6 separate regions of the Homo sapiens genome follow, and all the other regions are linked to region 3. The links are contacts of gene promoters, found by promoter capture Hi-C in blood cells and fetal thymus (Javierre and others, 2016). All regions are on one chromosome and are shown on one strand. Each heading gives the region's core, a stretch centred on a gene start or on the middle of the fragment in contact. The rest is flanking DNA. Distances are from core to core; before and after follow the strand shown.

Region 1 (4,895 bases), core at 424-2,923, 570 kb after region 3:
CTACTCGGGAGGCTGAGGCAGGAGAATTGCTTGAACCAAGGAGGCAGAGGTTGCAGTGAGCCGAGATCCTGCCACTGCACTCTAGCCTGGGCAACAGAGCAAGACTCTGTCTCAAAAAAAAAAAAACAAAAAAAACGGTTTCATAGTTCAGTAATTGAAGCTTCTAGATATCTTGGTTTCCTCATAATTATAAAAAGGTTTTAGAAGAGAATAATGTCTCTACTAAACCAAAAATTATATTAATAATTTATTAGGAAACTGAGAGCAATGTTATACCACATATAAAGGAGATGTTAAGATTTTCTGACTAGTTTTCAGGAAACAACAGGTTTATAATAAAAAAAACTTTATGTTTTAATTGTCTGATAAATAGGTTCAGAGGTAAATAACTATGATCCTACACCAACGTACTCCCAATATCTGTTATTTGTTTATCTCTTTCTACTTTTTAAAATGAACATGAGCTTTAACTTGATGCCAAATAATTAACTTAGAAATAAAATTCCCAAGGAAACCTTAAAGGACAGTAAAAGACTTAAAATGATAGCAAGCAAGGTACTTCAGAGCAAAGAAAATAAAGCTGAAAGAAAAAGCATACAGAGCACGCCTGTAATCCCAGCACTTTGGGAGGCTGAGGCGGGTGGATCACGAGGTCAGGAGTTCGAGACCAGCCTGGCCAACATAGTGAAATCCCGTCTCTACTAAAAATACAAATTGAGCCAGGTGTGGTGGCATGAGCATGTAGTCCCAGCTACTCAGGAGGCTGAGGCAGGAGAACTGCTTGAACCCAGGAGGTGGAGGCTGCAGGGAGCCGAGACAGCGCCACGGCACTACAGCCTGTGTAACAGAGCATGATTCTGTCTCAAAAAATAAAATAAAAATAAAATAAAAAGCCTATGGAAAAGGATTCCTCCATTCTTAATAACCTTGAACATTATTATTACCTTGGTCCCTAGGCAAAAACGAAATTTGGGTCAGGTTTCTTCCCCTGAAACAATGGCATGACCATGCCACTCTTCTGTTAAAGTCACAGCTCCTCTCCAGAACTGGTCTCATGAACTCCTCTCCAGAACTGGCCCTATAACCCAGCAAGGTAATGTCTTTACATGTTTCCTCTCTCTGCCTAAGATATTCTTCAAAACCTTTCTTCATCTGGGTTACTCCTACTCATTGTTTAGATTTCAGTTCATAAGTTGCTTTCTCCAAAAAGCTTTCCCTGACACTCTGCAGACTATTTTAGATACAATTGCCATGCTCTACCACAGCAACCTACACTTCCCCCTTCAGATACTTTATTACGACGACTTATTTGTTGGTCTCCTTTGCCCTGCTAGACTATAAAACTTATAAAGACTGGGACTATGATAGGGAGTAACCAGATCGTATTTTAAATGTCTCCCTCCCTCCCAGTCAAAACAGGCTTACTGCTGCACTATATAACACTGTCGATATATCTGTGCATTTGCTTATATGGTCCCTCCCTCCATATCCCGTCTCATAGAAATGTCACTGGATCATGTCCATAAAATTTCCTGCCTTTCCCAGGCTATAGTGAGTTTTACATTCTCTGAATATTTGTGGTATTTTTATCTTGTATTCCACAATCTAATTTATTTATTTATTTTTTGAGACAGAGTCTCACTCCCTCCCCCAGGCTTGAGTGCAGTGGTGCAATCTCAACTCACTGCAACCTCTGCCTCCCGGGTTCAAGCAATTCTCATGCCTCAGCCTCTCAAGCAGCTGGGATTACAGGCATGCGACGCCACACCCAGATGGTTTTCGTATTTTTATTAGAGATGGGGTTTTCCCACGTTGGCCAGGCTAGTCTCCAACTCTGACCTCAAGTGATCTGCCCGCCTGGGCCTCCCAAAGTGCTGGGATTACAGGCATACAGGCATGAAATTGCTCAGCCTCCACAATCTAATTTAATTACAAAATAAATATGACAATGTTAATACTTTGAGAAAAGCAATGTTTCTCTCAAACCAAAACCAAAGAACCAGTGGTACAATATTAATGCATAATATTAAACAAATATCTTTAGAGCATTCCCCCTCATTCAATTAAAAAATCATAAACATAAAATAAAATTAAAATTAAAAATTATTTTCTCTCCTTCATTAAACTGGAAGAATCACAAGCTTTAGAAAGTATTCAGATCTGTGTCTGATTCCCAGCTCTGGCACTTATGGACCACATGACATTGGACAAGTGACTGAGCTCGTCTCCTCATATGCAACAAGAGAATCAACATATCTACCCTGCAAAACCGCTCTAAGGGTTAGAGAGAAGCTGTTAGCAATATATACTAAGTATCTAAGATAATCTTAAAAAAAAAACAAACTGGCTGCTAACATTTATAGTTCAATTACTACTGGATGTGAGGAAAAAGGAAGATTAAGGTGAGCTAGGTTTTTGGATAAAAAACTGGGTTCCTGACTGGAAAAGAAACAGATTTGGCATGGTGAAAAACAAAAACAAAAACAAAAACAAAACAAAAAAAAACCTCTTATAGAGACGATATATTTCAGATGCATACTACAAGTCCAAATGAAGGTAGTTAGATACTGGAGGCAGAGAAAAGGCCAGGACTGAAAAGATAAAGTTGGGAAGTTTAAGTCTAGAGGTAGTGTTAAAAGTCATGGACCAGTCGGGTGTGGTGGCTCACACCTTTAATCCCAGCACTTTGGCAGGCCAAGGTGGGAGGATTGCTTAAGGCCAGGAGCTCCAGATCAGCCTGGGTCACATAGCAAGATACCATCTCTACAATAAATTTAAAAATTAGCCGGGCATGGTGGACACGCCTGTAGTCCCAGCTACTCCTCAGGAGGCTGAGGTGGGAGGATCAACTGAGTCCAGAGGTCAGGGCTGCAGTGAGCCATGATCATGCCACTGTCTCTAGCCTGGATGACAGAGCAAGACTCGGTCTCTTAAAAAAAAAAAATCCATAGACCATGAAGTTACTAGGAAGATGGTATAGCTATTATGGCAAAGATACCAAAGATAACGTTTCAAGAAAAACAGATGAAGTAATTTATGCTGAATGCTCCGAGAAGGAAAGATAAGGCCAACAAAAGGTTCATTGGATTTAGCAAAACTGAGTCTACACTTTGCAGGAGCTATGTGAGTAGTGTGGAGGGAGCTAAAGCCAAGTTAGAATGGGTTGAAGGGTAAGTAGATGGCAAGGTTGCAGGGAAATGGAGTGGAAAACACTCTTTTAAATACTTTTAGCTATAAGAGAAAACAGGCAGTAAATAGGAAATTTGTTAACAAAGGACTTTTATTCCCAAACAGCTCAAAATTGCAAGGAAACTAGGAGGCCGATCATAGAGGATCTTAGATGCCTTGTGAAAGCATACAAAATTTCTTACATCCCCTAATGTACTGTTTGAGGCAAACTATATATACATACAAAAACATGCTAAATACTTTCTGGGGTTGTTTTTGTTTTTGAGACAAGTCTCACTCTGTCACTCAGGCAGGAGAGCAGTGGCCCAAACACAGCTCACTGCAGCCTCAACCTCTTCATCTCAAGAGGTCCTCCCACCTGACCCTCTGAAGTAGCTGAGGCTACAGGTGTGCCCACCACATCCAGCTAATTTTTTAATTTTTTTTGCAGAGATGGGATCTTGCCATGTTGCTCAGCCTGGTCTTGAAGTCCTGGGCTCAAACAATCCTCCATCTTTGGGCCTCCCAACGTGCTGGGACTACAGGCATGAGCCACTGTGCCCAGACTAAAATAGTTTCTTACAAACATCTATACCACTAAACTATAACAAAAGTCCACTTCTTATGGTATGTCTACCAAAGAAAGGGAAAAGCTGTCCTTTTGTTCATTTCCAAAAACCTGTAAGAATGAGTAATTATCATAAAGATTGTATATATTAATTATCTAGCATACAGAACTAAATAAGCCAGATGGTAAATAAAATTACTGTTAGTGTAACAGGAGACCAAAAAAAGAGAGTTTAAAAAAAAAACATCAGCCGGGCACAGTGGCTCACGCCTGTAATCTCAATACTTTGGGAGGCCGAGGTGGGTGGATCACCTGGAGTCAGGAGTTCGAGACCAGCCTGGCCAACATGGTGAAACCCCGCCTCTACTAAAAATATAAAAATTAGCCAGGCATGGTGGTGGGTGCCTGTAATCCCAGCTACTCGGGAGGCTGAGGCAGGAGAATCGCTTGAACCCAGGAGGCAGAGGTTGCAATGAGCCAAGATCGTGCCACTGCACTACAGCCTGGGTGACAGTGAGACTCTGTCTCAAAAAAAAAAAAACAAAAAAAAAAAAACCAACTTTGTAACAGAAAACAAGGTCTTTAAGAAACATTAATTACAGCAATTATTAAAAATCTTAGATCATGGGCTCATGATTGATTAAATACTATTTCCAATGCCTAATCCTGCATTTGAAATTAATTAAAAATATAAGTATTTATTAAATTCCTTCCATTTCTTCAGAATATAATCAGAGATATCATTATTGACATGTACTGTGCATCCTCATTCATAATGCTATATGAAAAATTTTAATGTATATGTGGTCTGGGAGTTTAAGATATTTACTAGAGAAATTGTGCTAGGGAAATCCTCAACAAAATCCCAATAAAACTAATTCAACAGACTATTTAAAAAATTATACACTGTGGCCAAGTGGGATTTATTCCTAGAATAGAAAGATGATTCAACTACAAAAATCATTCAATGTAATAAACCACTTCATGGAAAACCCCCACTATGATCATCTCAATTGATGCAGAAAAGGCATCTGACAAAATCCAATATCCTTTCATGATAAAAATACTCAATAGAAATAGAAGGGAACTTCCTCAACTTGATAAAGGCCATATATAAAAACTCATAAAAATCATAGTCAACGATTCAAAGGCTAAAAAC
Region 2 (4,227 bases), core at 50-2,549, 520 kb after region 3:
CTGTAATCCCAGCACTTTGGGAGGCTGAGGCAGGCGGATCACGAGGTCAGGAGATCGAGACCATCCTGGCTAACACGGTGAAACCCTGTCTCTACTAAAAATACAAAAAATTAGCTGGGTGTGGTGGCAGGCACCTGTAGTCCCAGCTACTCAGGAGGCTGAATCAGGAGAATGGCGTGAACCCAGGAGGCAAGCTTGCAGTGAGCCAAGATTGCACAACTGCACTCCAGCCTGGGCGACAGAGCGAGACTCCATCTCAAAAAAAAAAAAAAAATCAGCCAGTTCTTCTTAGAAAGCTAAGAAAAAAAGGAATTTAAAAAAAAAAAAAAAAAAATATATATATATATATATATATATATCTCAAGGCCGGGCGCAGTGACTCACGCCTGAAATCCCAGAACTTTGGGAGGCTAAGGTGGGAGGATCACCTGAGGTCAGGATTTCGAGACCAGCCTGGCCAACATGGCAAAACCCTGTCTCTCCTAAAAATACAAAAATTAGCTGGGCGTTGTGGTGGGGACCTGTAATCCCAGCTCCTCGGGAGGCTGAGGCAGCAGAATCGGTTGAACCCGGGAGGTGGAGGTTGTAGTGAGCCAAGATTGCACTACTGCACTTCAGCCTGGACGACAGAGCGAGACTCTGTCTCAAGGAGGACAGGACAGGACAGGAAAGGAAAGGAAAGGAAGATTAAAAAAAAAGAACTGTGTCAGGCAAAAAAATAGAAATAAATGAAACACTAAAAAATCTAAGAACCACTATTAGAAGAGATTAATCTCTCCTATTTAATTAGTGTTAGAAACACTAATAAATACAAGAACCACTGTTAGAAGAAATTACAGCTTCAGAGAACTGGTAGCTTAATGGCAATAAGCTTAAAACACTACATGTAGTGTTAGGCTTAAAACACTACATTTTAACATCCAAAAAAAGCCCAAATTACTGTATATGACTAAATACCATTTTTCAAAAATAATATTTCAGCAAAGAGGGTATTACTTCCTACTCGGCCATACAAAGTCTCTCATGTTAAAAAACAATCACTATTACTTTATTTTAAACAACATACTACTTGAAACAGTACCAGTCAATGACAGTCTTGGGTATTTAAGGAAATCTCAAGATAAGCACCCAGCTTGACAATGTAAGGAGCTCTGTAGGTCTGCTCTTTAGTCAAACTGGTGACAATTATTTTAAAAACAACCACTTAACGACTCTGGAAATGGTCCCAAGGGCATACAGCAAATGAAGAAACATCTACTCAAAAAAATCTATAAAAACTGGGTAAGACAAGTGGGCATCTGCAGTATTTGAACCAAGATCACTCCACTTCCTAACTTGGTGTTACAGAAATTCCACTCCAGACTGGTGCAGTGAAGAACACAGGCCTCCCACTTCCCGAACTTCCAAGAGGAGGGCTATATTCCTGGGAGTGGCAAGGTATCAGCATCTCTCATTCTGCCCCCAGCTACCTATTGCTGATGCTATAGTACAGGCACACACGGCCAAGAGGTGGAGACTCCCTTCTGCTGAGACCCACTTGTGGACTAGATGCTCTACCTGGATGCAGCATGATGAGAATACTGGGGCCCAGATCATCCCTGCCCCAGCTTATTCATAAGGTGGAGGTCCCAAGCCTGAAAAGGAAAGAACTAAGGCTACTGTCCCCAACATCCAGTTAGCTCAGCTTCTAAAGTAAGAGAGGTACACCTTTATCCTTACTCCAACTTCAAAGCTTTGGCTCAGAGATTTTGCCTATGGGGAGAAGCAGAGACACATACAACACTCAGAGAAACATACAACACTATTAAGAGCATCAACGAAATATAGTTGGCCTTCTTTATCTGTGGGCTCTGCATCTGTGCATTCAACCAACTGTGGATCAAAAATATTTTTTAAGCCCTGGTGTGGTGGTTCATGCCTGTAATCCCAGCACTTTGGGAAGCCGAGGCTGGAGGGACTTCTTGAGCCTAGGAGCTCCGGGCCAGCCTAGAACATAGTAAGGCAACATAGTGAGACCCTGTCTCTACAAAATATTAAAAAATTAGCCAGGTGTGTTGGCATGCACCTGTAGTCCTAGCTACTTGGAAAACTGAGGTGGGAGGATCACTTGAGCCCAGGAGGTCGAGGTTGCAGTGAGCTGTGATCACGCGACCACTGCACTCCAGCTTGGGTGACAGGGCAAGACCCCGTCTCAAAAAATAAAGCCGGCCGGGTGCTGTGGCTCACCTGAGGCCAGGAGTTCAAAACCAGCCTGGTCAACATTGCAAAACCCTGTCTCTACTAAAACTACAAAAAATTAGTCGGGCGTAGTGGCAGGCGTGTATAATCCCAGCTACTCAGGAGGCTGAGGCAGGGGAACTGCTTGAACCCAGGAGACGGAGGCTGCAGTGAGCTGAGATTGTGCCACTGCACTCCAGCCTGGGCGACAAGAGCGAAACTCCGTCTCAAAAAAAAATAAATAAAACAAAACAAAATAAAGTCATGCGCAGACATTTTCCCCTTGTCATTATTCTGTATACAATAGAGTATAACAACTACTTACATAGCATTTGCATTGTATTAGGTATTATAAGTAATCTAGAGATGATTTAAAAGTATAGGGGAGGATGTGCATAGGTTATATGCAACTACTCTGCCATTTTATATAAGATACTTGAGCATCCTCAGATTTTAGTATCCAAGGGCGGGGTCCTAGAACCAATACCGCAAGGATACTGAGGGACAACTGTACTAGCAAACAGAATGCAGTAACATATAAAAAGAATCATGAGCCGAGTGTGATGATGCACACCAGTAGTCCTAGCTACTATGGAGGCTGAGGCAGGTGGATCACTTGAGGCCAGAGTTGAAGGTTACAGGGAGCTATAATCATGCCACCATACTCCAGCCTGGCCACAAAGCCAGATTCTCTTAGGAAAAAAAAAAAATTGCTGGGTGCCGTGGCTCATGCCTGTAATCCCAGCACTTTGGGAGGCCGAGGCAGGCAGATCACAAGGTCAGGAGATTGAGATCATCCTGGCTAACACGGTGAAACCCCATCTCTATTAAAAATACAAAACAAAATTAGCCGGGCAAGGTGGTGGGCACCTGTAGTCCCAGCTACTTGGGAGACTGAGGCAGGAGAATGGTGTGAATCCAGAAGGCGGAGCTTGCAGTGAGCGGATATTGCGCCACTGCACTCCAGCCTGGGGGACAGAGCGAGACTCCGTTTCAAATAAAAAAAAAAGAAAAAAAAAATTACGGCTGGGCGAAGTGGATCACACCTGTAATTCCAGCACTTTGGGAGGCCAAGACGGGTGGATCACGAGGTCAGGTGTTTGAGACCAGCCTGGCCAACGCAGTGAAACCTCGTCTCTACTAAAAATACAAAAAATTAGCTGGGTGTGGTGGTGGGTGCCTGTAATCCCAGCTACTTGGGAGGCTGAGGCAGGAGAATCGCCTGAACCCGGGAGGCGGAGGTTGCAGTGAGCCGAGATCATGCCACTGCACTTAAGCCCGGGTGACAGTGCGAAACTCCGTCACAAAAAAAAAAAAAAGAAAAAAGAAAAAAAATTACACACTATGACCAAGTGGGATGTGTCCCAGGAATGCAAGCTTGGTTTAAAAATCCAAAAATCGCCAGGCACAGTGGCTCACACCTGTAATCCTAGCACTTTGGGAGGCTGAAGTGGGCAGATCACCTGAAGTCAGGAGTTCAAGACCAGCCTGGCCAACATGGTGAAACCCCGTCTCCACTAAAAATACAAAAAAATAGCCAGGCGTGGTGGTGCACGCCTGTAATCCTTGCTACTCGGGAGGCTGAGGTGGAAGGATCACTTGAACCCAGGAGATGGAGGTTGCAGTGAGCCAAGATCGTGACACTGCATGCCAGCCTGGGTGACAGAGCAAGACTCCATCTCAAAAAAAAAAAATTATCCACATTAATGAAATTCATTAGTTCATCAATTAACAGGGCAGAAGGAAAAGCTCTTCCTTAAATTGCAACTAATGAATGAGTAAGAAATAATGGAATTAGAAAAACACCACTTGGCAATCAACACAGTAACCTTTTTCAGGCAACACTCATCAAAGGGTGTCAAAATTCATAGGAAAAAGTAGGATGAAAAATAGGATATTTACAGTCCCATACATAAGATACTTATTAATTATAAAGGAAAAAGTACAAATTTTGGAGTGAAGAAACCTGGCGGATGCTACCTCAACTAAGTGATCAAAATTAACCACAAG
Region 3 (4,884 bases), core at 1,471-3,970:
ACAAGAGGGAGGGGACCACAACCTGTGATCAGAGGGCAGCAGGGCTGCACAGGTCCTCCTGAGTGTATTTGACACCAAGTGGGGTGGAGGTTATGGAGAGGAGGCCACACAACAGGGACAGAATCAGGCCAATCCAGGCCTTGGAGTCAGCATCTGTCCAATGAGCCCAAGTAACAGGGATTTCAGGATAGGGCCTCCTAGGCTCACTTAGGGAGCCAGGCCTAGGTTTCACTGACACTTTCCTTCATGCCTGCTTTCCTCAGGCAGTGCAGCAGAGCCCTGCGGGAGGCTGCGGGGATAAAAGCCTCCATCTGTGGTACTGCCCACCTCCCTGTTCACAGTATCCTCTTCCCTAGGCCATTCTCCCTCATGGGGGAACCGGCAAGAGGCAAGCCAGAGGTGCTGCCTCACCGCCCACTGGCAGCAGCCCCAGGGAAGGAAGGGAGGGAAGGAGGGACAAGGATCAGGCCTGGGAGGCCCAGGGTTTTCAGACCTAGGGGATCTGGTCCCAGGGGGCGGGCCAGGTTGGCAGGGGAGCCCAGGTGCCCAGGTTCTAGGGGCGGAGCCTAAAGACTGGGAGGCGGAGCCCCAAATGACAGAAGGCGGGACTCAGGAAAGCCGGTGGGGGCCAGGGCGGAGCCGGGCAAGACGCGGTCGTTGCGGTTCCCAGGCTTGCAGTGCAGGGGGCACGGTGACTCACCCAGGCGGCGTCCGCCCGACCCTCTGAGGCCGCGCTCTTGCCACTTCCGTCTCCCGCAGCTGCTGAGGCCGCGCAGTCCCGACCCCACCACAGTGCCCCTCTCCTGAACCAATCATATCTCTAGCCTGTACCCGCCCTGGCCAATGGCCACGCCAAGTCCCGCCCTGCCCCCATCACGCAGCCACCGCCCTCACTCTCGACCCCACTCATTGGTCGAGTCGGGCAAACGCCCTCCCAGCCTTTAGCCAATCGGATGCCTAAAGACGAGACTATACCTGGAGGAAGGAGGCGCGGCGCCGGAGGGGAGACGCGACCAATGGGAAATCACAGCGCGTCCTTGCGGCAGCCAATAGGAGAGCAGTAAAGAGGGGGCTGCTGGCCACTGCTCTGGGGACCGGAAGTGGAGGCGGCTCGTCGCCTACTGGTAGCGCAATTAGAGGCGGGCATTGTAGGTTACATGCCTAAAGCCACTTCCGGTGATGGCCCCGCCCAGGAGGTACTTCTGAAACAGGTCCCCAGTGGCACCTCAGTTTATCCATTCCCGTTTTGGTTTCGCAGCTGTCATCCGGTCCCAACGCCAGAATAGGAGAAAAACCTGCAGGCTAAGAGAGAAGGGAGGGCTGGGCCTGAGGTTCAGTCTTGGTCATCTCCGACTGGCGGCGCTAGGATTTCCCCCTTCCTGTGTCTTGATGGGTTCCTCCAACACTCACTTTGTATCGATAAACGACCCTGCAGTTCTTCACGACCTGCATTGCGCTGGCAGTCCTGAGTGAAGAACTCTCCTCTCATCCCAGAGATGGGAAACCTGGATCTGAGACTGCCAGCTAGCTGCGGCCTCCTAGTCTGTAAAGCGAAGGGAGACCAGGACGCTCCCAAGGACCCGGCTTATCGCCCCTCCCTTTCCTTCCCGGGGACCCAGAACAGACCACAAGACGGAGGGTGGCCGCTGGAGGTCGCCGTGGCCCCGCGATACCACCAACCGACAGAAATGGAGAACAGTTGATTCAGATTCAGCTGATATTCTCAGGTCTGGAGCGGGCCTGAGCGCTTTAATTAGCCCGGGGCTAATGTCCTCACCCATCTTTGTTTATAGAACGTTGAAACTCCAGTACTGTTGGTAAGTTCCAGGAAGACAGGAACTTTGCACTACTTGAACTCCAGGGTCTAGAACAGCCTGCAATCTAGCAGATGCTGTAAATTTTTTAATTAAATACTGAACTCCTGTAGGACGGTGATTGTGTTTTTATTCATTCCCAGCACTTACTATAGTGTTTGGTGATTACAATGGCTGCAGCATTTGTTCAAAGCTCTATCACAGGCTTTCTACAGTGTAGAGCTTAACCTGCCTATCCCTTTTCCCAGATCAGGGGAAACAGAAAGTCAGGAGGTTGCACGCAGTTAATACCTTGTGTTTTCCCAAGGGCAGGTATCAAATACAAAACTGCGTCCGCCGCAGCTGGAATACGCACAGGCATCAAAATGGGGCCTTTTGGGCCGGGCGCGGTGGCTCATGCCTGTAATCCCAGCACCTTGGGGGGCCGAGGCGGGCGGATCTCAAGGTCAGGAGATCGAGGTCATCCTGGCTAACACGGTGAAACCCCGTCTCTACTAAAAATACAAAAAATTAGTCGGGCGTGGTGGCGGGCGCCTGTAGTCCCAGCTACGGAGTCTTGTAGTCCCAGCTACGGAGCTTGCAGTGAGCCGAGATAGCGCCGTTGCACTCCAGCCTGGGCGACAGAGCGAGACTCCGCCTCAAAAAAAAAAAGGGCAGGGGGGACTTTTGGACAGTCCTTTAATATTGGGGAAGTGCCCCAAATTTCTTTTTCTTTTTATTTTTCTTTTTTTTTTTTGAGACGGAGTCTCGCCCTGTCACCCAGGCTGGAGTGCAGTGGCGCCATCTCAGCTCACTTCAAGCTCCGCCTCCCGGGTTCAGCCATTCTCCTGCCTCAGCCTCCCGAGTAGCTGGGACTACAGGCGCCCGCCACCACGCCCGGCTATTTTGTATTTTTAGTAGAGACAGGGTTTCACTTTCTCCTTAGCCAGGAGAAGTGCCCCAAATTTCTAATCCCTTAAGCCAGGACCTTGGTAGCCCTGAGGTGTGATGGGAGACTCTGGACAGAACCACCTGTTGACCTATCCAGGACCCAAATATGCACCACAGGTAGGAATCTTTTTATTACCAAAGGTACTGTATGTGTGAAAGATGGAGAGAGACCCAGACCCCAGATAACAGAGGCATGATAGATATGATCGTCAAGATGGAGAAGCCAGGCTGGATTCTAAGCAGGGACTTAGAAGGGGAAAGGAAGTGGAAAGTTTTCCCCACTCTCCCTTCCCTACTAAAAGCCAGAAACCAACATCTTCTACCATTAGCCTTTCAAAACTGGGTCCCAGGATCTTGATCTCCAGGTCATAAAAATACACACAGGGACACCAGAAGCCACCTACAGATTTATTAAACTTTATTTCCTCTGAGTCTCTGGGCAGTCAGCAGGGATGTAAGGCGAAGTGGCAGTAGCTGAAGGGGCCTGAGCAGAGCTGGTGCTGGGAGGGGCCGGCATGGACAGGAAGAAGAGGAGGAGATTTAAATATCCAGGGCTGAAAGCCAGTTAATAGTTCTCCTTCATCTGTTTTTGTATTTTGTGTAGCATCTCCTGCATCCGCCGCAGCTGGAATAGGCACAGGCATCAAAATGGGGACTTTTGGAGAGTCCTTTAGTATTGGGAAAGTGCCCCAAATTTCTAATCCCTTAAGCCAGAACCTTGGTAGCCGTGAGGTGTGATGGAGACTCTGGACAGAACCACCTATTGACCTATCCAGGACCCAAATATGCACCAGAGCCAGGGATCTTTCTATTACCAAACAAAGAGATACCAACGTTGGTGATCAAACAGGAGACCTCCCCTATACCCCATACTGCTCTCACCTCCTCATCTTTCTCTCGGATAAGCTTCTCAGTTTCTGGATCTGTCCCTGGTGGGACAGCAGGGATGGGGAAGTCGGTACCACTTTCCCGAGTCAGTTTGCTAAAGGGAGAAAAGGGTTGATAAGGCGAGGAGGACCCCAGCACCCGCTTAGATTGAGCCCAGGGCCTATAGAAGAACAAAAGTAGGGCTTGGTCTCACCCAAGGCTAGGCTTGGGATCTCCCCCTGCCAGCTTTGTCCTGGCTTCTGGTCATACTTGCGATTCCGTTCCTTCACCACCAGGCGGGTCATGCTCTGGATGCACTGTGCCCGGTAGTTCTCATAATGTGTCTCCCGTGTCACATCCTTCAGGTCCTGCATGTGGGTACGTACCAGCATTGTCCTCAGCTTCACAAAGTCGCAGTGCCCTGGGTTTTCCACTGCATAGCAAGGCTAGGGGTCAGCCAGAGGCATAGGTAGGGGAGAGCCACTGAGGGCAAGGAGATACCCTGGTCACAGGCTCAGTGCTTTACCTTCCACGATGCCCCAGGGGTAGAGTCGACCCCGAACTCGCCGCCCTCTGGCCTCTACTACAGTGTTGCTGCCAATTACTGCAAATGGGATGCTTTCCTGGAAGAGGTTAGGGGTGCCTGTCAGCACCCTCTGTTCTCACCTCTTTCTTTCCACCTGTATCGTCATCTTCTCTGCTTCATTCTAGGAAGCCAGGGTCCTTTCCCACCCTGATAGCCTGAATATAGAATTCTACTCCCTTTTTCTACCCGGAAGAAATAAGATAGGAATGGGATGCCCTAGAGTGGCCCCACCTTTAGGGCTTGGTCCTGCAATTTGAAGTCCTCATCCTCATCAGAGTCACAGTCTGGGAATTGATAGATCTTGATTCCAAAATGCTCAATCTCCTCCCGGATCTGACAAACAGATGAGGGGCCCACAGTTCTGGGGACCACATCCTTTCTAGAAGCCCACCTGATCCCCTCCCACCACCAGCTTCCCTCACTTTGCGTTTCTTGTGGTCCACTTCGGGAGGTGTCAGTGTGTCTGCCTTAGCCAGGATAGGCACGATGTTGACCCGCTGATGCAGGGCCTTCATGAATTCAACATCCAATGGCCGGAGCCTGGGGAACAGGAACCTGTGACCACCTGCTAGTGGCAGCCCTGCCCCTGGTGCTCTTGGCCTGTTCCCTTGACAGCACCCGGTGGTGCCAGGAGCCTCAGGCTTGGACCATACCCATGGCCGAAGGGTGAGATGAAGTACAGGCAGC
Region 4 (4,872 bases), core at 1,110-3,609, 700 kb after region 3:
ATGCATGCCTGTAATCCCAGCTACTCGGGAGGCTGAGGCAGAAGAATCGCTGGAACCCGGGAGGCAGAGGTTGTGGTGAGCTGAAATCGTGCCATTGCACTCCAGCCTAGACAACAAGAGCGAAACTCCTTTTCAAAAAGAAAAGAAAAGAAAAGAAAAATATACACACACACAATATTAGCCAGGCGCGGTGGTGCGCATCTGTAGCCCCAGCTACTCAGGAGGCTGAGGCAGGAGAATCACTTGAACCCCCGGGGAGGCAGAGGATGCAGTGAGCCGAGATGGCACTGCTGAACTCCAGCCTGGACCACAGAGTGAGACTCTGTCTAAAAAAAAAAAAAAAGCGGTTAGAATTTGAGGTTTATATATAATCTAAAATTTACGGGTGGGAAGGGGTAGGGGGTACTTCCAGAAGAACAAATGACTTCTTAGAAGCTGGGGAGAAAGCACTTTTTGGAAAAAGAAATGATTTTTTGGAAACATAAATGTGTCCTTAGGAGAATACCCATGAGATGTCATACTTTTGTGACAATGTCTCTCATCTCTGACAGGATTAGAATTGTTCCCAGGGAGGAGATTTATGACAGTTAAGTTCTTCTGGGAGCCTTTGATTTTAGGTTGATAAGGGATTCCAGGAACTTAAATGCCTTCAGCTCAATATATATATATTTTTTAAGAGACAGAGTCTTGCTCTGTCGCCCAGGCTGGGGTGCCGTGGCATGATCTTGGCTCACTGCAAGCTCCGCCTCCCAGGTTCAAGCCATTCTCCTGCCTCAGCCTCCCTAGTAGCTGGGACTACAGGCATGCACCACTATGCCTGGCTTATTTTTGTATTTTTAGTAGATACGGGGTTTCACCATGATGGCCAGGCTAGTCTCGAACTCCCGACCTCAGGTGATCTGCCTGTCTCAGCCTCCCAAAGTGCTGGGATTACAGGCGTGAGCCACCATGCCCAGCCTCAAAATAATTTTTATGCCACAGTGGTTTATTCTAGACGCTTCCATAGTCATCAGGTGATATTTTGAAAAATAGAACTATGTGCGTCAGTTGATCTACAGGAAATAGTTTAACAGCCCTAAACAGAACACATGATTTTTTAACCTGTAAGTTTCCTCAGAATGTTGCTCTGTTGCCCAGGCTGGAGTGCAGTGGCACCATCAAGGCTCACTTCAACCTCGACTAAAGGAATTTTTTTTTTTTTTTTTTTTTTTTTTTTTTTTTTTTTTTTTGAGACGGAGTCTCGCTCTGTCACCCAGGCTGGAGTGCAGTGGCGCCTTCTCGGCTCATTGCAACCTCTGCCTCCCGGGTCCAAGAGATTCTCCTGCCTCGGCCTCCTGAGTAGCTGGGATCACAGGCACACGCCACCACCCCTGGCAAATTTTTGTATTTTTAGTAGAGATGGAATTTCGCCATGTTGGCCAGGCTCCTGACTTCAAATGATCTGCCCGCCTCAGCCTCCCAAAGTGCTGGGATTACAGGCTTGAGCCACCGTGCCCAGCCACCCCCTATTTTCTTCTAATTTTCTTTTTATAGTTGAGATAGGGTCTTGCTCTGTCGCCCAGGCTGGGGTGCAGTGGTGCAGTCATAGCTCACTGCAGCCTCGATTTTCCAGGCTCAAGCAATACTCCCACTTCAGCCTCCCAAGTAGCGTGACTACAGGTGCACGCCACCACGCCGGGCTTATTTTGTTTTATTTTTTGTAGAGATGGGGTTTCGCCATGTTGCCCAGGCTGGTCTCGAACTCCCGGGCTCAAGCGATCCACCCTTCCTTCCCGGCCTCCCTAAGTGCTGGGATTACAGGCGTGGGCCACCGCGCCCGGCTGAATCAGGATTTTAAATATTCACTCTGCTTTTCTAGTCCTGTGGGAGATATGGTCTTCTCCGTAAAATTTCTCCCTCAGTCCTGGGTGATTTATTTCTTTTGCATTGAAGTGTGTGGCTTTTCGTGTGTTAGCAGTTTGTAATTTGTCGGGTAAAAGGAAAACTAGTAGGGCCTTCTGGAACTTAGTTATCTGTCTTTCTAGGACTTTTAGGTAATACCTTATAACCTTAACAAAGTTTCCTTATTTTATACGGACTTGTAAGTCAACAAATACTTCTACAGTGCCTATTGTGTACAAAGAATGAGGATTGCACTTTCACAATGAAATGAGGGAGGACAGGGGCCGATCTCTCAGATATTTGACTGATAAACCAGTACCTTTTCTAGTATATGCGACCATAGGGGAAATTCTCTCTAGGCTAGATAAACGGAGGAGTTTATTTAGTGTTTTAGCAAGCTTTATCGCCTCCATAGGTACAAATTATTTGCATTTTCTAGAGCAAGGGATAAGACGCGCCCTGGAATCTTTCCTTTTTGATGTGGATTTTCCAATTAGGAAAGGCTGCCCGTGAATAGTCTTTTCTGCTTGAGTGATGGCCAACACACTGGCAGGTTTGCAAGCTTTCTCTTCATGAGGGTCCGTCCACAGAGCTAGGTGACAAACGCTCAGTCCAGGATCTCTGCAGGTTCCTACACGGGAGCCGGAGAGCGCCTGCGCGTCGGAGCCTCTTTGTTGCTGGGGCGCTGGGGTCCAGCTGCGCGTGCGCAGTAGGCCGGCACCGACAAGTGCGCTGCACCAGTGGCACCGGCTGGGGGCGAGCCGACCTCGAGCAGCCGCCGCCGCCGCCGTCGTTGCTACTGCCGCAGCGGAGTTCAGAGGGCCCGGAGGTGGGAGACTTCCCACACGGTGACTGAGATGTCGTCCACTGCGGCTTTTTACCTTCTCTCTACGCTAGGAGGATACTTGGTGACCTCATTCTTGTTGCTTAAATACCCGACCTTGCTGCACCAGAGAAAGAAGCAGCGATTCCTCAGTAAACACATCTCTCACCGCGGAGGTGAGAGGGGTCCCCAGAACCCGATGACGGAGGTGGGGGAGGCTGAGGGTCCTTTGCGGCTCCGCAAAAGGCAGCCGGGTGCCAATCCCTGAGAGTTTGAGGAAGAATGGGGTTGTGTGAATTGAGGGCTCTTCCGGAGGTGAAGGCTGTGTGAAGGGAAGGTCTCCTGAGGGGAGGGAAGGAGAGGGATTCCCGGTCAGAGCCACGGCGGGGGTCTCTCGAGGGCAGCAGTGTGAGGGGTTCTCTGAAACGGGAAAGACACGGTCGAGAATGAAGGGTAGGTGGAGCGTTTCTCGGCGGATGGAAGGATGATCGCAAGGTCCCTTCCTAGCAGCAAGACACAAAGGGGGAGCGCCGTGCAGAACCGAGGGTACCCCGCGGGGGGCACCGGGAGCACACTGCTCCGAGCGAGCTAGTGGCTGAGTGGATGGGAAGAGCCGAGGCGACGAGGAGGGCTGGGGATTTGCATGAAGCTGGACGAGCTGTAACCCCTTGTCTGCGGTGCTGGGGGCCCGTCCCACCCCCACGTTCCGAGCACTCATAATTGAGAAGAGAGGGAAACCGAGTCCCCCGAGCCAGGGACATTTCCCAAGGTCACAATTAGAGCTAGGGCTGAACTGAGACAGGAGCTACAGCGTCCTGGTCCTCAGGGCTGGAAACCTTGCATCTTTTTTTTTTTTTTTTTGAACACTGCAATAAATAAATAAATAAATAAATAAATAAATAAACACGCAAAGACACGTGGATTTTCAACAGACTAAAAATGATTTCGTTTAGGACAGGACAGTATTGTTTAAAGAAAACAAAAATAAGTTTCTTTTGGAAAAGTGTTTTGCTAAAAGGAGCCCAGGTAGTCCACCCTCTAATTTCCCAGATAACAGGCCAAATCTTTGCTTCTTCATTATTGTGTAATAATGTGTCTTCATTGCATTTCAACTATGATGTATAAAGTGCGGTGAAATTGGATTATTTTCAATCAATTTTAACTGTTCTTTAAGGCTGAATCTTAAACCGGTTTAAAATTTGCTTGAAATTTAATACACACTTGAAATGATAATTTCTAGGAGTTTACAGTCTAAAACTTGGTGTAGTACCATAATCACTTTACTAACAAGTATTGGCCAAGGAAAAAGGTTTTGAAATATAAATACGGAAGTACATTATCATTCTTCTATATAATTTTATTAGTTAAGCATAGTTCTAATGAGTGACTTCAATAGTATTCTAGCCTTCCCACTCATGAAAAGCCTCAGAGGTTTTAAAGGGTGGTCAGCCAAATGCCTTGTTATTGTTTATTTGGGTTATCTGTTTTAATAGCTACCTGGTTAAACTGTAGGATGACATTTAACTACTAAGGTGCCTTCAACCATTGGAACCAGGGACCGACTTTTAGTATTCAAGTTGCTGTCACAGAAGCAATTTTCTTTTTTCTTTTTGTGTTTTTGTTTGTTTGTTTTTTTGTTTGTTTGTTTTGAGATGGAGTCTCGGTCTGTCACCCAGGCTGAAGTGCAGTGGCGCGATCTCGGCTCACTGCAAGCTCCTCCTCCCGGGTTCACGCCATTCTCCTGCCTCAGCCTCCCGAGTAGCTGGGACTACAGGCGCCCGCCACCACACCCAGTTAATTTTTTTTATTTTTAGTAGAGACGGGGTTTCACTGTCTGAGCCAGGATGGTCTCGATTTCCTGACCTCGTGATCCGCCCATCTCGGCCTCCCAAAGTGCTGGAATTACAGGCGTGAGCCACAGTGCCCAGCCTTTTTTTTTTTTTTTTTTTTTTTTTTGAGACAGAGTTTCCCTCTTGTCGCCCGGGCTACAGTGTAGTGGTGCCATCTTGGCTCACTGCAGCCTCTGCCTCCTGTGTTCAAGCGATTCTCCTGCCTCAGCCTCCCGAGTAGCTGGGATTACAGGCTCCCGCCACCACGCACAGCTAATTTTTGTATTTTTAGTGGAGACGAGGTTTCACCATGTTGGCCAGGCTGATCTCAAACTCCTG
Region 5 (4,373 bases), core at 609-3,108, 590 kb after region 3:
ATTAACATCTTTCTATCAAGATCTGCCTCTACTTTGAACAGTTTCCTTATTGCCAATAGTTATTTTAAAATAAATAGTTATTTTAAAGGGAAATTGACACATACATATAACACACTCACGCAAAACTGGCAAGTAGCAGATAAGTGCTCTTCTAATTTCAGTTTCCTAGCTTTCATGTAGAATGAACAATTATAGTAATAAAGGCTGAAGGAAAACAAAGATATTATTGAGATACAACAGGGACAGTCTAAAACAGCATCAGAAAGCAAGTTCATGCTGTTCAACATTAGCAGGCAAGGGAAATAGGGAAAGAAATACGCAAACGTGGCTATCACAGAAAAGCCAGCTTATTACTTTAGGTTCTGTGGGAGACTACAGGTCACATAAAAGCAGTCTCAACAATAATGTGACCACATGTGCAATCAACATTTACAAAATGAAATTATATATCATGTATAACACAAATGTTTTGCCTATACTTTAATTTACAAAGCCACATACCGAATGACTGAAATGTACATAAACATTCTTTTATGATAGACCAGAACATCTATATTATCATGACTTAGAAAAAGAAAACAGATGCAAAATAGTGTTGAGAATTTCTGGCCTGAAATTACAAGACTAAGTGTGTGTGTGCATGCGTGTGTACATATATTTAAATCGTTTTATTCTCATTTGATCCTTTTGGCTGAACTTTATTCATATATTATCTGCCCTTCTTCTTATAATCTCTCTCATGAAAGATATCATTATCCAGTCATTGAAGCCAAACCCCCTTCACCAGCCCCCAATCTCTAGACATCAAGGGTTAACAAGACATCTTCCTAAATTTCTCCGGAATTAAGCTCTTCTCTGTTAGAATTTCCTTTCCAAGTCCATTTCTTCATAAATCTGGCATGTGAAATTTGAATTGCTCTGCCGCAGTTTTCTCTTCTTTAGTCAGTGGTGACAGCTAGAAAATAAATGATAAAATCTTTATTTCAAAAACTTTCAAAGACTTAAATCAGTTTAGTTAACTTCTGCATTGTCACACCAATAAATGTTTCCCTAAGCTTATACTATGTATGTAATCACAGATTTAGAAAGGCAAGGGAAAAAACAGATACTTGGCTATTTATATACAAGGTCCTATGATGTTTGAGCTTCTAAAGAACTTGCAATTAAGTTGAAGAAACAAGACCAAGAAATCAAACAATTTAAGGATTATAGCAGAACCAAAGAAGTCATGTTTGGATGCCATATTCTAAAAGTACAGTCAACCCTCAGTATCTGTGGGAGATTGATTCCAGGATAACAAAATCCACAGATGCTCAAGTCCCTTATATAAAACTGCGTAGTATTTGCATAGAAACTATACATATCCTCCTGTATACTTTAAATCATCTCTAGATTACTTATATACCTAATACAATGTAAATGCTATGTACATAATTGTTACACTGTATTGTGGAAGGAATAAATGATAAGGAAAAAAGTCTACAGATGTTCAGTACAGATACAACCATCTAATTTTTTTCCAAAATTTTTGTTTTCTATTTTTGAAACGGGGTCACTCTGTCGCCCAGGCTGGAGTGCAGTGGCACAATCATGGCTCCCTGCAGCCTCAACCTCCCATCTCAAGCAATCCTCCCACCTCAGCCTCCCGAGTAGCTAATTTTTAACTAATTAGTACACTAATTTTTAGCTGGGCATGGTGGCGCACACCTGTGGTCCCAGCTGCTCGGGAGGCTGTGGTGGGAGGATCACTTGAGCCTGGGAGGTCGAGACTGCAGTCAGCCCTGATGGTGCTACTGCACTCTAGCCTGGGCAGCAGAGCAAGACCTCATCTTAAGAAAAGAAAAAAGAGGCCGGACGCGGTGGCTCATGCCTTCTAATCCCAGCGCTTCGGGAGGCTGAGGCGGGTGGATCACTTGAGGTCAGGAGTTTGAGACCAGCCTGACCAACATGGTGAAACCCCATCTCTACTAAAAAACACAAAAATTAGCCAGGCATGGTGGTATGCACCTGTAATCCCAGCTACTCAGGAGGCTGAGTTGGGAGAATCCCTCGAACCTGGGAGGCGGAGGCTGCAGTGACCCAAGATCGCACCACTGAACTCCATCCAGCCTGGGTGACAGAGCAAGACTAAATCACACAAAAAAAGAAAGAGGCCGGGCACAGTGGCTCATGCCTGTAATCCCAGCACTTTAGGAGGCTGAGGTGGGTGGATCACCTGAGGTCAGGAGTTTGAGACCAGCCTGACCAACATGGTGGAACCTCATCTCTACTAAAAATACAAAAAAATTAGCTGGGCATGGTGGCAGGCACCTGTAATCCTAGCTACTCGGGAGGTTGAGGCAGGAGAATTGCTTGAACCCGGGAGGTGGAGGTTACAGTGAGCCAAGATTACGCCATTGCACTCCAGCCTGGGCGACAAGAGTGAAACTCTGTCTCAAAAAAAAAAAAAAGATAAAGGAAAATGTATTATCATTCCACAATAACTTCAGAAAAAGGAAAGACTTCTGGGCTGACTTATTTAGCAACTGAACAATGTAAGGACTCCATTTTTTCCATCTCACAGCTCTAATATCCTGGATAGTGCCTTTACCCTCAAGCTGACAGCAAATGGCTTTAACGGTGCTAGGTATCACAACTCTACACAATGTCCAGAAGAAGAAAAGAAGCTTTCTCTTCTCAGGGTTCTCTCAGCAGTGAGTAAAGTCTTCCTAGTAACCTACTTCCAGACTATCCTTACTCACATGTCATTTGGGTTACAAACCCATTCCTCAACCACTGTTAGTTAAAAAATAAAGTCCATTCCCTATGCCAATCAGATGCACCCCTGGAGCTGAGGATGGGGCCAGATTCATCTCAGGCACATCGCTATGAGGGACAACACACATCTCAAGAAAGTCAGTATAGTCATGTGTCACTTAATGACAGGAATACGTTCTGAGAAATGCATCGTTAGGCAGTTTCATCGTGTGAACATCACAGACTGTACTTACACAAACAGGGATTGTATATATACACTCAGGCTATATGGTATAGCCTACTGCTCCTGGGCTACAAATCTGTACAGCATGTTACTGTACTGAATACCGTAGGCAGTGGTAACACATGGTATTTTTATATCTAAACATCTGAACATAAGAGTACAGTAAAAATACGCTATTATAATCTTCTGGGACCACTGTCATATATATTTGGTCCATTGTTGACCAAAACGTCATTATGCACTGCATGTCTATATTCTGGTAGGCAGGAAAGGATAACAGATACTGAGAAAGAAAAATGGCCAATAGCATCCACCAAAAGCAGGTAGCAGCAAAAGAAGGGAGGCTGAAGGGAAGTTGTAAGGGACTTTCACAGAGCACCAACAAACAGGCTGGCTGAAACAAAGGGTTATGTGGGGAATTAATAGGAGGTACAACCTGAAGAATCAAGTAGTTACAATTCTGCCAACTATATAGGTCATCTCTAGAGAGACTGCCAAATCTGGAACACCCCAGACCTACAGAATCAGAATCTCTAGGGCAGCACTGTCCAATAAAACTTTCCATGATGCTGGAAATATTCTTTATCAGCACTGTCCAATCAGTAGGTGAAGAAGTTAATGTTCATCTTTCATTTAACTACCTTAAATGTAAATTTCTTTTCTTCTTTTTTTCGTTCTTTCTTCCTTTTTTTTTTTTTTTTTAATTTTGAAATGGAGTTACACTCTTGTTGCCCAGGCTGGAGCGCAATCTCAGCTCACTGCAACCTCCGCCTCCCAGGTTCAGGAGATTCTCCTGCCTCAGCCTCCCGAGTAGCTGGGATTACAGGTGCCCGCCACCATGCCTGGCTAATTTTTTGTATTTCTTTAGTAGAGACGGGGGTTTCACCGTGTTGGCCAGGCTGGTCTGGAACTACTGACCTCAGGTGATCCACCTGTCTCGGCCTCCCAAAGTGCTGGGATTACAGGCGTGAGCCACCATGCCCAGTCTAAATTTAAATTTATATAGCCACATTACGTTATGTAAATAGGACAGCCCAAATCTAGAACAGCCACAGAACCTATATGATTCTGATATGCAGCTGGTTCCACTGATCAACATTTGCCCAACATGTTCACAAGGATAAACTGAAAAACAATCATACGTCTTACTACAACCCAGTTACAGGATTTCCTTCTTCTACCTCAAAAAAAGGAAATGTTATTCTGACAAGACTTTGCTTTTTCGTTTTGTTTTTGTTTTAGAGACAGAGTCTCGTTCCATCGCCCAGGCTGGAGCGCAGTGGTGCGGTCATAGCTCACTGCAACCTCTAACTCCTGGGCTCGAGCAATCGTCCCACCTCAGCCTCCCAAGTAGCTGCGACTACAGGTGCACACTGCCATACCCAGCTATGAG
Region 6 (4,901 bases), core at 1,890-4,389, 630 kb after region 3:
AGGGGGTTTTGCCATGTTGCCCAGACTAGTACAAAAAAAATTTTTTTAATTAGCTAGGAGTGGTGGCACGTGCCTGTGGTCTCAGCTACTTGGGAGGCTGAGGTGGGGGAGTATCATCTGAATCTTGGGAGGTCAAGGCTGCAGTGAGCTGTGACCGCCACTGTACTGCAACCTGGGTAATAGAACAAGACCCTGTCTCAAAAAAAAAAAAAAAAAAAAAAGAAAAGAAAATAGGCAAAAGATTGTGAGACATTTCACTAAAGAAGATATACAAACTACAAATAAGCATATGAAAAAAGGTTTAACATCATTAGTTAAGGAAGTGCAAATTGAAACTACAATGGGGCACCACCACATAACTGTTAGAAGGGTTAAAATTAAAACTGATATTTTTGCATCAACCTAATACCAAGTGTTGATAAGGTTATGGAAAAACTAGAACCCTTATCAATAGCTTTGGGAATGCAAAATAGTACAGCCACTTTGAAAAATATTTTAGCAGTTGCTTATAAGATCAAGCATACTTTTTTTCCCCCAAGGATACATTTATCAGGCTACCAGAAATCCCATTTCAGTATTTACTCAAAAGAAATGAAAACATTACGTCCACACAAAGACATACTCATGGCGACTCACTCCCAGAACCCCAGCACTTTGGGAGACTGAAGTGGGAAGATCATTTGAGCCCAGGAGTTAGAGAACCAGCCTGGCAACATAGTGAGACTTCATCTCTACAAAAAAATTTTTCAACTAGCCAGGTATGGTGATGCACACCTGTAGTTCCAGCTACTCAGCAAGCTGAGGTGGGATTGCTTGAGCCTAGGAGTTTGATGGTACAGTAAGCTATGATCACACCACCGCACTCCAGCCTGGGTGACAGTATGAGACCCTGTCTCTAAAGAAAAAGAAAAAAATATTGCTAAAAAAAAAATTAAACAAAGACATTTGGGAGGGCAACACAGGAGGATCACTTGAGCTCAAGAATTCGAGACCAACCACAGCCATTTTATTCATAATATGCAAAACGTGGAAATGACCCGATGTCTATAAGTTGGTGGATAAAGAGTTTGTGATATTCTATACAATGAATACTACTCAGCAATAAAAACTGTCCAACTGCTAATATACAACATGGATGAATCTCAAAGCATTATGCTAAGTGCAAGAAGCCAGACACAAAAGACTGTATAATGTATGATTCCATTTATATGAAATTCTAGGAAAAGTTAAACTAGAGATCAGTGGTTGCCAGGGACTTGGGGAAGAAGAGGTTGACCACAAAGAGGCACAAAGGAATGTAGGGGTCTCACTCTGTTGCTCAGCCTGGTCTGGAACTACTGGGCTCGAGTGATCTTCCCACCTCAGCCACCCGAGTAGCTAGGTCTACAGGTGCACCACCATGCCTGGCCACAAAGGAGCTTTTTGTAAAGTAACAGAAATGTTCTATATCCTGGCTGTGGTGGTGGTTACATGACTGTATACATTTGTCAAAACTCGTCAGTTCACTGGGCATGCCACACCCCTGTAGTCCAAGCTACTCAGGAGGCTGAAGTGGGAGGATTGCTTGAAGCCAGGAGTTCTAGGCTGTGCTGCATTATGATTGCCTCTGTGAATAGTCGCTGCCCTCCAGCTGGGCAACACAGCAAGACTTCGGCTTTGCTTAACAAATAGCTTACTTACTTTTATTTTATATAATTGTATCTCAATAAAATTCATATTTTTTAAAAGTGATGAATCCACACTATTGTATCTCATAAGAATAAACTGTAAAACAAACACTCTTAGGTTTTAAATTCAACCATTTCCTAGACAATACACAAAATTAACACCAATTAAGATTTGGAGGACTAGGCACAGTGGCTCACACCTATAATCCCAGCACTCTGGGAGGCCAAGGCAAGAGGACTGTTTGAGCCCAGGAGTTCAAGACCAACCTCGGCAACACAGTGAGACCCTGTCTCCACAAAAAATTTCAAGAAAATATTAGCCAGGCATGGTAGGACACGCCTGTGGTCCCAGCTACTTAGGAGGCTGAGGAGGGAGGATTATCTAAGCCCGGGAGTACAAGGCTGCAGTGAGGTGTAACTGGGCCACTGCACTCCAGCCTGGGCAACAGAGAAAGACTCTGTCTCTGGAGAAAAAAAAATGACTTGGGGCAAGTAACTGCAGGAAAAATATACAGCAGAAATTGTTTCCATCACTACCAATTCATCATAAAACTCAAATAAAACCTAAAGTTTGACAGAACCTATCCAAATATGTAACAGAAAGCAACAAATTATAAAGTATTACTCATTTAGACAAACCATAACAACTTAGATATAAAAAATATTCTCCAGACGTGTTTCATAATGCAGTAAAATATTGTTTTTAATTAGTTAAAAGGTTTTTTTTTTTCAAATTATGACTTTCTAAAAGATATACTGTTAGTAACAACATTATAGTTCTCAGCAACAAAGGTTGTGGTAAATTATTTACTGATACCGAAGAAAGATGTAAGGTAAGAATCAAAATTCTGGCGTGCATCCTGCTTTCAGATGCTTTGACAATACTATTGCACTGCTAGCTGTAAAGTACAGTAGTGCAATAAAGTCAGAGCATTCGTTAGCAGTAATAAGTAGGAAAGGAACACAAAAGCATCTTGCATCGGTTGAAGCTTCAGTGAGAAACGAATTTAAAGTAGGGTTGCCATTTTGGACAGAAAAACATCCAAAACCAAAAAACATTTATATCAATGTTTTTTTAAAAAAGGATAAGACTTAAATATCAAAGTGATGTTGCTTATTGATGACTAATATACAAATTAACATTCGAACAGAAACATGCATAGATGTAGAAAGGAATTTTGTAAATATGCCCTAAGCCTTAATAGTAATTAGAATGGGTATTGTTAATACTTTAGGATTGGTATTAACAAAACCAGTTATAATTACTACTAAGGCAAAGTTGTGAAAAATATTTTTGTTCTCTGCAGAGATGTTGGTTAGCTCCTTCTTCAAGGCAATTTACTGATTAAACGCCATGTAAAACAAGCCCTTTGAATAAAAGTATCAAAGAAAACAAATGAAAAGTAAAATAATAAGTTTCTCAATCTCTACATACTCAATCTATCACTCTGGAATCTAAACCACTAAACAAAGAAAACACAAAAGCACTTACCATCTTACAGCTTTTTATCTTGAGTTTACTAAGGGCTGTCATAACAACAGAAGGGAATCAATGTGCTCTAAACAGAACATTAACCCTATCTAACTGAATACTATCCAAGGGGATTTTAAAATTTCAGTTAACTCCTGAAATCTTAAATAGAGGCAGAAAGCATCTCCATTTCCTTCAAACTTAGAAATGTCAAAGAGAAAATAATGATGGGGGGAGGTGGGACTGAGATTTAAGTAACAAGTTTCCTTAGTTCCAAGCTAATTGACATTTTAACTTTTTTAACGGATAAGAACCCAATCAGAAGTCAGATGTAAACCCAGAAACAGAAATAGTATCATAGTATCACACTGCATTACCTTTTGTGTACAGTCACTAGTAGTACCACGAAAGAACAAAGCTAAACAAATACCACCCCATCATTAAGTGAAGGGGAAAAAGTCAGAGAACAAAGATTGCCCTACAATAAGCTTATTCCCCCATTAGTAATGTTGATTGATGCAAAAATATATTTTCATTATTTTCACCAACCTCCCTTTAAACGGTCCAATTCAACTACTTAGTCGGATTGAGCCTACTAAGGAAATGGGCTCATACAAAGGACAGCTGAAATATAAGTGTCTTGGTGTCAAATCCTGGGCCACATAACTAAAATATTAGAATATTTAACGCTGGTAGCCAAGTTTCAGGTTTTAAAGACAACTGTTTAAAAGATAAGTGTTTAACTTTCTGAATTGGAAGTTATTACAAACAAGAAAAATATTTAAAAAATTTAAGGTATTAACAAAATTAGGATAAACACTTTCTTTTCAAATTAAATATTATGCATTTCCTTTTACCTTGACAAATCCTTTATTTAACTGATGTAAAACCAAAAATCAGAAGATAGCACAGGAATCATTTACTCTTAAAATCTTATAAAATAAACTGGTCCACAAGTATAACATTTTTTTCTAGAAGCACATGGTAAATCTGAAGATGAGATGCACTGTCTTTTATTATCTAGTCAACACAAAGCAGTAATAATTAGAGCCATGATAAAAATTCATTTCTAAACCCTAATAATTATGGAAACAAACTAATAACCTGAAAGGAAAAAAAAAAAAGCTACCACTAATTTACTTGCAAGGATGTAAGAAAGGAAAAAAACCTCATTTCTTTTTTTCCTGTCTTCAAAAAGAATTTAAATACTACCCCATCATTCAAACAATACCTAAAAGTTTAAATGTCTGGCTACCTTATAATTTTCTAAAACCTACTTTTTCAAAATGTTTACTTCATCATTGTTCACTTAAAAGAGAATTTGTTCAATCTAAAGAAGTCCTGTGAGAATACTGACTCTACTGTAAAAGCCAGACGAAGTTTAAAAATTAGAAACAGCCAATTTGAGAAGCAAACAACCTGTTAAAAGCAGAATTAGCATCATTTAGCAGAAATGAATTATGAATTTAAGCAGAAATATCTATATCAGTAGGGAGGAATTCAGAATGGGAGAAGGGCAAGATAGTCTTAACATTTAAGCCTGTTGACAGAATCAAATTACAATGCTTAACATTTTGTTTTTTTTAAATGATAATAAAACTTAAAACTAAAAGTTCATTATTACAGGTTTGAAAATCTGCAGGAAATTCTTCCTTCTTCCCTCCCATTTCTCCCTACACTTCTCCAACCCCACACACACTGCACAAAGAAAATTTAAACACAAAATGCTAAAAGTAATTGAAAGCCTTCAAATTAAATTTGTA

Evidence for each region. The method cuts DNA at HindIII sites, captures the fragments that hold promoters and counts their contacts. A CHiCAGO score of 5 or more calls a contact.
Region 1: a fragment that was not itself captured here is called in contact with the fragment with the promoter of SEPTIN4-AS1 in region 3 in 2 of 17 cell types (activated CD4 T cells and naive B cells); the score reaches 6.1 in activated CD4 T cells.
Region 2: a contact is called between a fragment that was not itself captured here and the fragment with the promoter of SEPTIN4-AS1 in region 3, in 6 of 17 cell types (naive CD4 T cells, M0 macrophages, total CD8 T cells and 3 more). The highest score is 5.8, in naive CD4 T cells.
Region 4: a fragment that was not itself captured here is called in contact with the fragment with the promoter of SEPTIN4-AS1 in region 3 in 3 of 17 cell types (naive CD4 T cells, megakaryocytes and fetal thymus); the score reaches 7.3 in naive CD4 T cells.
Region 5: a contact is called between a fragment that was not itself captured here and the fragment with the promoter of SEPTIN4-AS1 in region 3, in 3 of 17 cell types (naive CD8 T cells, naive CD4 T cells and activated CD4 T cells). The highest score is 6.8, in naive CD8 T cells.
Region 6: a fragment that was not itself captured here is called in contact with the fragment with the promoter of SEPTIN4-AS1 in region 3 in 8 of 17 cell types (naive CD4 T cells, fetal thymus, non-activated CD4 T cells and 5 more); the score reaches 9.3 in naive CD4 T cells.

The regions. Positions count from the first base shown.
Region 1 is chr17:59,092,286-59,097,180 of GRCh38, forward strand. All of the region lies in intron 2 of TRIM37 (tripartite motif containing 37), which reads right to left. Among named protein-coding and RNA genes, the nearest start is that of TRIM37, 12 kb to the right of the region's middle. The HindIII fragment of the contact is 931 bases long and covers 1,209-2,139 here.
Region 2 is chr17:59,042,117-59,046,343 of GRCh38, forward strand. The region is part of intron 16 of TRIM37 (tripartite motif containing 37); the gene reads right to left. Among named protein-coding and RNA genes, the nearest start is that of TRIM37, 63 kb to the right of the region's middle. The HindIII fragment of the contact is 861 bases long and covers 870-1,730 here.
Region 3 is chr17:58,517,117-58,522,000 of GRCh38, forward strand. SEPTIN4-AS1 (SEPTIN4 antisense RNA 1) reads left to right here and starts at 2,721. Exons shown (of 5, transcript NR_110810.1): 1 at 2,721-2,861. It overlaps SEPTIN4 (septin 4), which reads right to left. Exons shown (of 14, transcript NM_001368771.2): 8 at 4,851-4,884; 9 at 4,620-4,737; 10 at 4,429-4,530; 11 at 4,138-4,234; 12 at 3,882-4,044; 13 at 3,627-3,726; 14 at 3,140-3,369. The coding sequence ends at 3,310. It also overlaps a transcript of MTMR4 not described here. RefSeq lists enhancers at 1,280-2,025, 1,373-1,472. The HindIII fragment of the contact is 4,387 bases long and covers 1-3,648 here.
Region 4 is chr17:59,217,872-59,222,743 of GRCh38, forward strand. It overlaps GDPD1 (glycerophosphodiester phosphodiesterase domain containing 1), which reads left to right and starts at 2,640. Exons shown (of 10, transcript NM_182569.4): 1 at 2,640-2,880. The coding sequence starts at 2,739. RefSeq lists an enhancer at 2,666-3,216. The HindIII fragment of the contact is 164 bases long and covers 2,278-2,441 here.
Region 5 is chr17:59,111,391-59,115,763 of GRCh38, forward strand. It overlaps SKA2 (spindle and kinetochore associated complex subunit 2), which reads right to left. Exons shown (of 4, transcript NM_182620.4): 4 at 1-955. The coding sequence ends at 887. LOC124904039 (a long non-coding RNA gene) reads left to right here. Exons shown (of 2, transcript XR_007065864.1): 2 at 2,564-4,373. Among named protein-coding and RNA genes, the nearest start is that of TRIM37, 6.7 kb to the left of the region's middle. The HindIII fragment of the contact is 1,611 bases long and covers 1,054-2,664 here.
Region 6 is chr17:59,148,610-59,153,510 of GRCh38, forward strand. The region is part of intron 1 of SKA2 (spindle and kinetochore associated complex subunit 2); the gene reads right to left. MIR301A (microRNA 301a) reads right to left here and starts at 2,612; the gene lies at 2,527-2,612. RefSeq lists a silencer at 1,491-1,570. The HindIII fragment of the contact is 970 bases long and covers 2,655-3,624 here.